Regions from separate parts of the Homo sapiens genome. Here region 2 is linked to region 1. Evidence: promoter capture Hi-C in human tissues and cell types (Jung and others, 2019). All regions are on one chromosome and are shown on one strand. Each heading gives the region's core, a stretch centred on a gene start or on the middle of the fragment in contact. The rest is flanking DNA. Distances are from core to core; before and after follow the strand shown. Region 1 holds the start of IGFBP3 (insulin like growth factor binding protein 3). Region 2 has its middle 500 kb from the start of SNORD151.

Evidence for each region. Contacts are between HindIII fragments. The study calls those that stand out against the background at their distance.
Region 2: a contact is called between a fragment that was not itself captured here and the fragment with the promoter of IGFBP3 in region 1, in 1 of the 25 tissues and cell types used here (lymphoblastoid cells).

What each region holds. Positions count from the first base shown.
Region 1 is chr7:45,918,291-45,923,653 of GRCh38, reverse strand. It overlaps IGFBP3 (insulin like growth factor binding protein 3), which reads left to right and starts at 2,382. Exons shown (of 5, transcript NM_000598.5): 1 at 2,382-2,916. The coding sequence starts at 2,514. RefSeq lists enhancers at 1,418-1,998, 1,999-2,579. The HindIII fragment of the contact is 8,943 bases long and covers 1-5,363 here.
Region 2 is chr7:46,960,184-46,965,546 of GRCh38, reverse strand. No RefSeq gene overlaps it. Among named protein-coding and RNA genes, the nearest start is that of SNORD151, 500 kb to the left of the region's middle. The HindIII fragment of the contact is 3,930 bases long and covers 861-4,790 here.

The sequences.
Region 1 (5,363 bases), core at 1,133-3,632:
CCTGCAACAATTATGTTCCGGGAGGGGCAGGGAGCTTGCAGTTATCAAATAAAACTGGCTAAATAACAAAACACAATTCTCCCCGTGTCACTGCCTCAAATTTACTCTGCTGTTGCAAGATGTCATGATAAAGGTGATGGCAATCTATATAAAACATTGTTATTGGAATAGCCTTTGAAAGTTGAAATGTGACTTAGTCTTTACGTGTGTCCCGTGGTCCCTGAGGCCGGGCTGGACGCCTGGAGCTTTGGCGCCCCCTAGCCATTCGGCACTGAACAAGTTTCTCCAACTGCAATGCGAGGGAAAAAAGAAGAGAACCAAGAATAAAACAAATTTTTTAATCCTTTCCAAAAAGACATTGTTTCTGATCTTCCCCTGTCCACTCTCCAGATGATAAAGCTGAATAAAAAGTGCTACACTAACCAGTGGTCAGTCCAGGCTCTGCTGCAACATTGCACTAACCAGAACTGCAGACCTGGGACCTCAAGAATTGCATTTGATGCCGAACCCAGCTCTAATTTCAGAGTCAAGGTCTCTGCGAGTATTTAAGGAACGGATGTAAACCTGGGGGATTCGTTTTGTTTCCTTCAATTTTCCAATGAAATCAGAGATCCTGTTCTTGGGTGTCAACGCAGATACTAGAAGGAGGTGATACAAGAGAAAGGAAACAGCAAGCGACGATTATGGCACGGTTTCCTGTAAACAAGGTTGAGTGTAGCCACAGCCTGAGCACTGTGGGAGAAGAGCTCATAAGAAAATGACGGTGCTGGGCCTTCGTCACCCCGGGGCACTCCATTGTTCTTGTCTTTGGTCTCTTTTTATTTGTAGAGGTCCAATTATTTATTTATTTAGTACAAGAGGGAACGAAATTGATCTTTCCATTCTAAAAGGAGAGTATATATGTATAAAAGGAAGCTGTATAGATATGGGGGAAGAGGTGGACAGGGGGAAAAGGGGAGAGGACGAGAGAGAGAAAGGGAGGGAGAGGGACAAGGAGAGACACTGGGCGAGAGATCGATTAGGAGAGACAGAAATGATGAATGAAGATTAACTTCACCCAAGGCTTCGTGCTGGAGGGGAATGGAGGAGCTCCTGATTTGCTATTACTACTCCAAACTGCAAAGGGCTCCTTCAAGTCACCTATCCACCTCCTAAGGCAAGCGTCCAATTTCAACAGCGTTCAGGAAAGTCTCCTCCCGCGGAGGTCTCACCGCTTCCCACTCCACCCCCACAAACTCTTTGGAAAAGTGCCTTGAAAAATTTAATCCTCAATCCAATCCTGGACCACCAGCGTCCTCTGTTGGTCACCGAAGGGAGGGGGTGCGCAGACAAAACTGAAGAAACTCGAGTGCCAGAGAAGGCCGACAGGAGTTACAGCGACCTCAGCGCGCAATTGCGCCCCCGAACTTTACTGAAAAGTGTTTAGATTGCAGAGATAAGCTAGAATCCCAACGCATCGAGAATACAGTAATACGAAGTCGCCTTCAAAAAATGACAATGAAAATTGCCTATTAAAGGACTATTTGGTTAATTACGTTTCAGCAGTGCCCAGTTTATTGTCTTTATTATTCTTTTGTCATGGGTGTAAACTCCATTTGAAAACATAATCAGGGAGAATACCCAAGACAAGAAGAACAGTTGTCATTTAAAATATTTGAAAAGCCCTGCCTTAAGGACGCATTCGCTTGCCGGTCCACTCTTAATTGGAGACTTGCGGTGTAGCAACACGTGAGAGTCTTCTTGCGTTGAGAAGTAAGCCTGGAAAGGGGCGAAGGCCCCGGGCGCATCTTCAGATGCGTATTTGTGGGCCCCTGGGGATATAAACAGCCCAGCGGGTGTAAATTAAACCCCGCAGTGCCTTGGCTCCCTGAGACCCAAATGTAAGTCAGAAATGTCCCAAGACTTCGCCTGCCAACGGAATTAAATTTTAGAAAGCTCCACGAGGTACACACGAATGCGGAGCGCTGTATGCCAGTTTCCCCGACACCGGCTCGCCGCAGGGAGACCTCACCCCGAGAGCGGAAGGGGTAAGGGCGGCGGGGTCAAGGAGATCGGGGGTGCTGAGTTGGCCAGGAGTGACTGGGGTGACCGGGGGTGCTGAGGTGGCCTGGAGTGCCGGGGTGGCCGGGCACACCTTGGTTCTTGTAGACGACAAGGTGACCCGGGCTCCGGGCGTGCGCACGAGGAGCAGGTGCCCGGGCGAGTCTCGAGCTGCACGCCCCCGAGCTCGGCCCCGGCTGCTCAGGGCGAAGCACGGGCCCCCGCAGCCGTGCCTGCGCCGACCCGCCCCCCTCCCAACCCCCACTCCTGGGCGCGCCGTTCCGGGGCGTGTCCTGGGCCACCCCGGCTTCTATATAGCGGCCGGCGCGCCCGGGCCGCCCAGATGCGAGCACTGCGGCTGGGCGCTGAGGATCAGCCGCTTCCTGCCTGGATTCCACAGCTTCGCGCCGTGTACTGTCGCCCCATCCCTGCGCGCCCAGCCTGCCAAGCAGCGTGCCCCGGTTGCAGGCGTCATGCAGCGGGCGCGACCCACGCTCTGGGCCGCTGCGCTGACTCTGCTGGTGCTGCTCCGCGGGCCGCCGGTGGCGCGGGCTGGCGCGAGCTCGGCGGGCTTGGGTCCCGTGGTGCGCTGCGAGCCGTGCGACGCGCGTGCACTGGCCCAGTGCGCGCCTCCGCCCGCCGTGTGCGCGGAGCTGGTGCGCGAGCCGGGCTGCGGCTGCTGCCTGACGTGCGCACTGAGCGAGGGCCAGCCGTGCGGCATCTACACCGAGCGCTGTGGCTCCGGCCTTCGCTGCCAGCCGTCGCCCGACGAGGCGCGACCGCTGCAGGCGCTGCTGGACGGCCGCGGGCTCTGCGTCAACGCTAGTGCCGTCAGCCGCCTGCGCGCCTACCTGCTGCCAGCGCCGCCAGCTCCAGGTGAGCCGCCCGCGCCAGGTGCGCTGCGTGCAGCACCCGGCGCACTGGCGCCGAAGGGCCTGGGGGTTGCTGGGTGCCGCTGCGGGAGACTCCGCTTTTCTTCTCACTGGAGATAATATGTGGGGAAACTGAAGGCGCTCCGGGAAAGGTGAAGGCGGTCGCCGGAGGGACCCTCCCCAGCCGGCCCTCTACTTGCTCGATTCTCTAAGTGCAGAGTACTTGTAAATTGCAAAGCGCTTTCAGTGAAAATGGGTTAAAGGTTTCCGGAGCTGAGGGGAGCGGTACCGATGTTTAGCTGTTGGAAAGATCCTGGACACAGGAGATTCTCCTCGCCCCGCACGGGGGTGCACACGGACTGCAATCCCAGGGATGCTTGGGGATGGGGGGGATATAGGCGGATTTGGACCAAGGAAGGTGGGCAGGCACGTTGTAGGAAATAGTACCTCTCTTTTAAAATACTGACTTTGCACAGCCTTTTGGTTTGCAAAGCAATGTCTAGTCCCGGTATGTCCAAAAACAAGTAAAGTGGATTCGGGTTTTGATATCTTCTGCGGTTGGAAAACCTGAAGCTGAAAAAGAAGTAACTTCTTAAGGTTACCCAGCGGCCACAACAGAGTGTAGGTTTGAACTCCGCGTGCCACTTTCAGTACCATACCATTCTTACAACTCGGGCCACCCCTGCACCTGCGCCGACCTCAAACAAACTTCCAGGTGCGTGGTGGGTGCGGGCAATGTGGACTAAGTCAATTTCAATGACACGGAAGGGAATTGGAATCAGTCCTAGGGCTGTCTCCCTTCTTAATCTGAAATGGGGGGGGGAATGAGATGTTGTTAAGGGGAGCCCCAGAAGAGGAAAAATGCAAACATTTGGCAGAGTTACCCTCTTGGCTTAGCCACTATCAGTATCAGGCAGACAGCGACTCTGGTAAGGGCATCACATTGTTCCCTTAAAAAAAGGAGCGGGGGTTGTTTAAATGGATTTGGCAGCTGTTCTTTCAAGCATTCTTAGCCAGCCTCACCTAGTTATATGAGAAATAAAGTTCCTGCCTTGCACAGCTGAAGGCTGGGAGAATTCTCCCCATCCTAATTCCCCCAACTCCCCAACGATCACGTTGGACAGATGTCACTGGGCAGGCCCCCATCTAGGGCTAGCAGGATGAACAGTCCCTTTATAATTTATGTAGCTGTAGAGTTCCACGCCCGGGTGAAGTTATTTTCTGGCTCGGCAAGGCTGGCTCTGTTCACCCCTGAGAAATGCTGGATTCATGGAAAGGCAAGATGCCTGAAACATACACTGGCTCTGGTCAGCTGTTAAAGCTGCTGGAGGCATTTGTCTCTCGGGGCAAAGTTATGTCATTTGCCAAGTGTCGTACATTATTGTGCATTTTGGGGTATTCAAAAAGTGATCTTAGAAATACTGATACACATCGTCATTCTTGGGCTTTAGCAATCATCATGATTACCACCTTAGTAGCACTGTAGTATAGGTTGATGTGAGTTATAAGATTATAAAAAGATCTAAGTGACTTCTAGAATCTATTTGACAAAAAAAGGTAAATTTTCGACAGTCAAAAGTCACAATTATCTGTTGCTTAAATAGAACTGTTTTGTCTTCATGCCCTAGTCTGCAGCCCAGGCATTAAGAAGAAACCAAGGAAATTTAAGAAATTACTCAAGGTTCTTAGAAAAGAAGTATAAATACGTTTATTTACATGTTCTTAGAGTATTTACATTCTTAGTATCTCTTTTATCTCAGTATTTCCTTGAAAAAGAAAGCAAGCTAAGATTAAAAGAAATTGAAACCAAATCCTCGCAGGTAGGGACCTCCTCTGTGAGGCTCTGTGCTGGACCCTGGGAATGTGTGCTTCCCAAGGTATGAAACCCCTTGGGGAACTTTACAGCAGGACCTCAGTGAGCTGTTTGGCAGGTGAGGAAACTAAGACCCAGAGAGGAGAGGGACTTTCCTAAGGCCCTGGTGAGTGACCTGCCAGTAGCCACTTCCAGGGGAGAGCAGAGCATCTGCAGCCAAATCATTGCAGCCCCAGGTAGCTTTCTAGAATAGACTGTGGACCAGATGGGCCACCTGAGCTCCCTGCTAGGGTTACACATTATAGCCCTGTTTGTTGTAGTAGAGAAATTTCATGACTCTCAATTGTGGACTTAAGCCGATGCCTCCAGACCTTGGCATGGTCCACAGGCCCTGGGAGCATGGGCTCTGAATGTAGCCTTTGATCCCCATAGCGGTCTTACAGCCCCTCCAAGTTCATTCTGAAGAAGGAATGGAGTGAGAATCCTGGCTGCAGATCCAGTCTTGAATTTAGTCATATACTTAAAATTCCAATTCAACTGTTAACATTCCAGCATCCATTTTAAGCATCAGACTTTCTTCATTTAGCACTTTTTATTATAAAAGGGAGATCTGCTGGAGGGGGATTTCTCCTACCCCA
Region 2 (5,363 bases), core at 1,576-4,075, 1.0 Mb before region 1:
CAGTCTGTTTTGGTAACTTGCATGGTTTAAAAAATTTGTTTATTTCATGTAAGTTATTGAATTTTTTGGCATTCAGTTGTTCATAGAATTCTCCTATAATCTCTTTTATTTTTATAAGGTCTATAATAAAATCTCCATTTCCATTTCTGGTTTAGTAATTTGATTCTTCTGTCTCTCATTTTTCATCAGTCTAGTTAAAGCTTTGTCAATTTCGTAGATTTTTTTCAGATAACTAGCTTTTGTTTTTACTGATTTTCTTTATTGATTTCAAACAACTTAGTTTGCTCATTTCTGCTCTCATCTTTATTATTTTATTGATTTTTTTTCCCTTTGGGCTTAGTTTACTGCTCTTTTTCTACTTTTTTAAGGTGAATGGTTAGGTTAGTGATTTGAGATCTTACCTTTTTAATGTAGGCATTTACAGATGTAAATTTTCCTTTGTGTACTGCCTTCACTGTATCCCATGAGTTTCTTGTGATTTCTTCTTTGGTTCATTGATTATTTAGGGGTGGATTATCTTATTTTCAAATATTTTAAAATATCCCATATTGCCTTCTGTTATTGATTTCCAATTTCATTTTATTCTGGTCAGAAAAGATGCTTTGTGTGATTTCAATCTTTTAAAATTTAGTGAGACTTGTGTTGTGGTGTAACATATAGTCTATCCCAGAGAATGTTCCATGTGCATGCATATGTGATTTTGCTTGGTGGAGTGTTCCATAGATGTCTGTTAGGTTCAGTTGATTGATAGTGTTGTTAAATGCTCTATCTTCTTATTGATCTTCTGTCCGGTTGTTTTATCTATTATTGAGAGTTGTGTATTGAAGTCTCCAACTATTACTATATGACTATTTCTCCCTTCAATTCCATTAGTTTTGCTTCATGCATAGTAGCGTATTGCTATTTGGTTTATATATGTTTATAATCATTATATCTTCTTGATGAATCAGTTTTTTCCATTATAAAATATTTTTCTTTGTCACTCTGGAAAATTATGTCTAATGTCTATGTTACCTCTTTTGGTAATTGTATGAAATATCTTTTTCTATCATTGTACTTTTAACCTATTGTGTCTAAAATGAGTTTGTTTTAAATAGGACATAGTTTGATTTTTCATAGTGATCTTTGCCAGTGTTTATCACTTCTTTGTGTGACTTTAAGTTAATGTCTGCTATCCTTTCATTTCATCCTAAAGAATGTCCTTTAATGTTTCTTTTTCCTTTTTTTTTTTTTTACAGGTAGTCACTGTATTTTATTGAAAAGCATTGATATATATTTTTCTTCTCTGCTTGAACTGAACACAGTATTGCCCAGTTTTAAAACAAAACAGAACCAAAACATTCCAAAAATGTCCACAGACTCATGCCTCCCACTGTGTGCCATTTCTTTCTCTCTCCCATTAGTGTTTCTTTTCATACAGTTCTGCTAGCAATGAACTTTATTGTATTTTATTATTCTGGAAATGTCTTTATTTCTCTTTAATTTTTGAAGGATAGTTTTTTTTTTCTGAATATAACAAGCTTACCTGACAGTTTTTTTTTTTTCCCCACAGCACTTTGAATATGTCATCCTATTATCTTCTGGTCTTCATAGTTTTCAAATGAGAAATCAGCTGTTAATTTTGGGAGAATCCCTTGTATGTGCTGTGTCATTTCTGTCTTTGGTTTTTGTCAGTTTATGATGTGTGGATCTTCTTCATTTGGTACTACCTATAGTTTTTAAGCTCCTTGGATGTGTAGATTAGTGCATTTCATCAAATTTAGGAATTTTTTTTGACAATTTTTTTTAAGTATTCTTGTTGCACCTTTTATTCTTTTCTTTGATTCTGGAACTTCCATTATGCATATGTTGGTATGCTTAGTGGTTTTCTACAAGTCCTTTAGGCTCTGTTCAATTTTTTTTTCTGTTCTCCAGACTAGAAAATTTTCTTTGCCCTATCTCCAAATTTACTGGTTCTTTTTGTCTTCTCTTATCTGCTGTTGAACCCCTCTAGTGAATTTTCCTTTTCAGTTATTCTTAAGATCTGTAGTCTGGTCCTTTTTATAATTGCTATCTCTTTCTATTTGTAAAATATAGAAATTTCTGTAATATTTATATCTCCTTATTGATATAACTCCTTTTTGGTGAGAAAGGATTTTATAGTGTAGGTTTTTAGACATGTTTTCAGACATATTTTCTTTTTAGTACATTGAACATATTTAAATTAGCTGACTTTAAGTCTTTGTCTAGTAAATTCACTCTCTGGTCTTCCTCAGAGACAATTTCTATTAATTTTTTTCTAGACTGAGGAGGTACATGTGCAGGTTTGTGATGGGTAAATTGCATGACACTGAGGCTTGGGCTTTTAGTGATCCTATCACCCAAGTAGTGAACATAGTACCTGATGGGTAATTTTTCAATCCTTGCCACCTTCCCCCTTCCCTCCCTACTTTTGGAATCTCCAGTGTTTTTTGTTCTCATCATTGTGTCCTTGTGTACTCAAAGTTTAGTTCCCATTTATAAGTGAGAACATGTATTATTTGGTTTTCTGTTTCTGTGTTAATTTGCTTAGGATAATGGCTTCCAGCTGCATCCACCTTGCTACAAAGGACATGATTTCATTATTTTTATGTCTGCCTAGTATTCCATGATATATATGTACACTTTCTTTATCCAGTCCACCGTTGATGGGCACCTGGGTTGATTGTGTGTTTTTGCTATTGCGAACAGTGCTGTGATGAACATACAAGTGCAGGTGTCTTTTTGGTAGAACAATTTATTTTCCTTCAGATATATACCCGGTAATGGAATTGATAGTGAATGGTAATTCATTTTTAGTTCTTTGAGAAATCTCCTCAGAGATTTTTGAAAACTCTACAGGGGCTGAACTAATTTGCATTCCCACCAGCAGTGTAGCATTATCTTTTCAACTAATAAGCACTCTCTTTTTTCCCAAACCTTGTCAATATCTGTTATTTTTTGACCTTTTTTTTTTTTTTTGATAGTCTTACTCTGTCACCCAGGCTGGAGTGCAGTGGCGCAATCTCAGCTCACTGCAAGCTCCGCCTCCCGGGTTCACGCCATTCTCCTGCCTCAGCCTCACGAGTAGCTGGGACTACAGGTGCCCGCCACCATGCTTGGCTAATTTTTTTGTATTTTTAGTAGAGACGGGGTTTCACTGTGTTAGCCAGGATGGTCTCGATCTCCTGACCTCATGATCCGCCTGCCTTGGCCTCCCAAAGTGCTGGGATTACAGGTGTGAGCCACCATTCCTGGCCATTTTTTGACTTTTTAATAATAGCCATTCTGATTGGTGTCAGATGGTATTTCATTGTGGTTTTGATTTTCATCTCTCTCATGATTGGTAATGTTGAGCATTTTTTCACATTTGTTGGCTGCTTGTATATCTTTTTTTGAAAAGTGGTTATTCATGTCCTTTGAGGGGCAATGTATATTAATAGATGTTTTTCTGTTTATGTTTCTTATTTCCTTGCATGTCTTGTAATATTTTGTTAAAAACCAGCATATTTTGTATAATATAAGGAGGAAATTCTGACAATCAGGTTCCTTGTTTTTTTTCATAAGAATTTGTTGTTGCTGCTTATTATAATTATTATTTTTCTGCTTGTTTGTTTCATGACTTCTCTGAAGTAATTTTGTATAGACTGTGTCTTTGTTGTGTGTGACCACTAAAGTCTCTGTTACAGTAGCTTAGTGGTCAACTAATTATTGAGCAAAAGTTATTTTGATGCCAAAACAAAAACTAAACCAAAAACTTATCATATTCTTTGCAGAGGGGCTTTATGTGTACAGTGGGCATGCCCTCAGCCCGTACTCAAGAAGACTACAACCATGCTTTAGGCTTAACTTCCTGCTTTTACAGCCCAAAGGTCAGCAGAGATGACAGATTAGAGTCTTCTCAGGTCTCTCCTGGGCAAGTGCACAGCTCTAGGCATGTATGTGGCCTTCTAGATTTATATATATGTATATAAAATATATAGAGCTTTTCAAAGCTCTTATTTTTCAAACCATTTTATTCCCCAACCCTTACTTCCAAATTTTTAAAATATTGTTTTTTTTCTCAATTTTTATCCATTGCCTTAGGAAAAACAACCAAAACATAAGTTTTTTTTTTGGTAAAATTTTGAAAAAATATTCCTTAAGTAACAGTTACAGCACTGGGTGAGCTCTGAGTTAGGCAAGATCAAGTTGAGCCTTTTGTGCTAGTTTTCCAGGAAGCTACCAGACAATTATAATTTATTTTATCTTATTTTATTTTGAGACGTGGTTTCACTCTGGTCACCCAGGCTAGAGTGCCGAGACACAAACATAGCTCATTGCAGTCTTGACTTCCCAGACACGAGAGATCCTCCCACCTAGTTCTCCAGAGTGCTAGGATTACAAACCTGAGCCACATGATTGGCCAACAATTACAATCATTTGTGACTGAAATTAATTCTGCCCTCTCTAGTACTGGTGCTGTGAATGCAGACTGTAATTTTCAAAGCTACTGCTAAGCTGGGGAGTGGAGGCTGAGAGTAGGAGAAGTTAAATTATCACAAAGCTCAATGTTTTTACTGAAATAAGATCCATGTTTCTTAAATAAGGGTTCCTCTGGTTTCTGAAGTTTTAGTTAGTTTCCAAAGTTACTAAAATTTGACTGACACTTTTGCCAGTATTTTTGTTACTTTTTAAGAGTCATTTTTTTTCAGTTTCTTACTCTGCTATTTTCAATGCCATCACCTAGAAATTCCCTTGAACTTCTAGATAAATATCCATATCATCTCATAATAAAATCAGGTGTTCTTTGCTTTTATGTATTGCTTTACTGCAATTGCTAGCAACTGAGCACCATCAAAAAATTAGCTGTGATAGTTGTGATTAAATGGTTATTCTTCTGGAATGTCACACTCAGTTTTGATGTGTGCTGTAAGTCTAACTGAAGACTTTGTATCAAGTCAATAAAGCTCTCTTCCACATCCAGTTTATGACTGTTTCTAATCATGAAAAACATCTTAGGAGAGGTGCTATGAAAATGGACTCTTAAACCAAACCTGGCTTAAATTTTGGCTCTCCCATTGTTATATGGATGACCTGTGGTAAGTTACATAAATTCTTTGTGCCTCAATTGCTTTATCTTAAAAAATATCATTTCTTTTCAAGTATTCTACTTATTAGAAATTATAACTAGGTGCAGCCCGCATCAAAGGGATGTGATCACAAAAGGGTGTGTGTGTAGCAGGAGGTATAGATAATTGAGACCCATTTTAAAGGCTGCCTCCCACACTAGGTTACATTTTTTCATTAAGTTTCATATTTCTTTAACATTCTCCTTCGTATTTACACTTTTTTTCTCTATGCTTTAGATTAGATATTTTCTACTG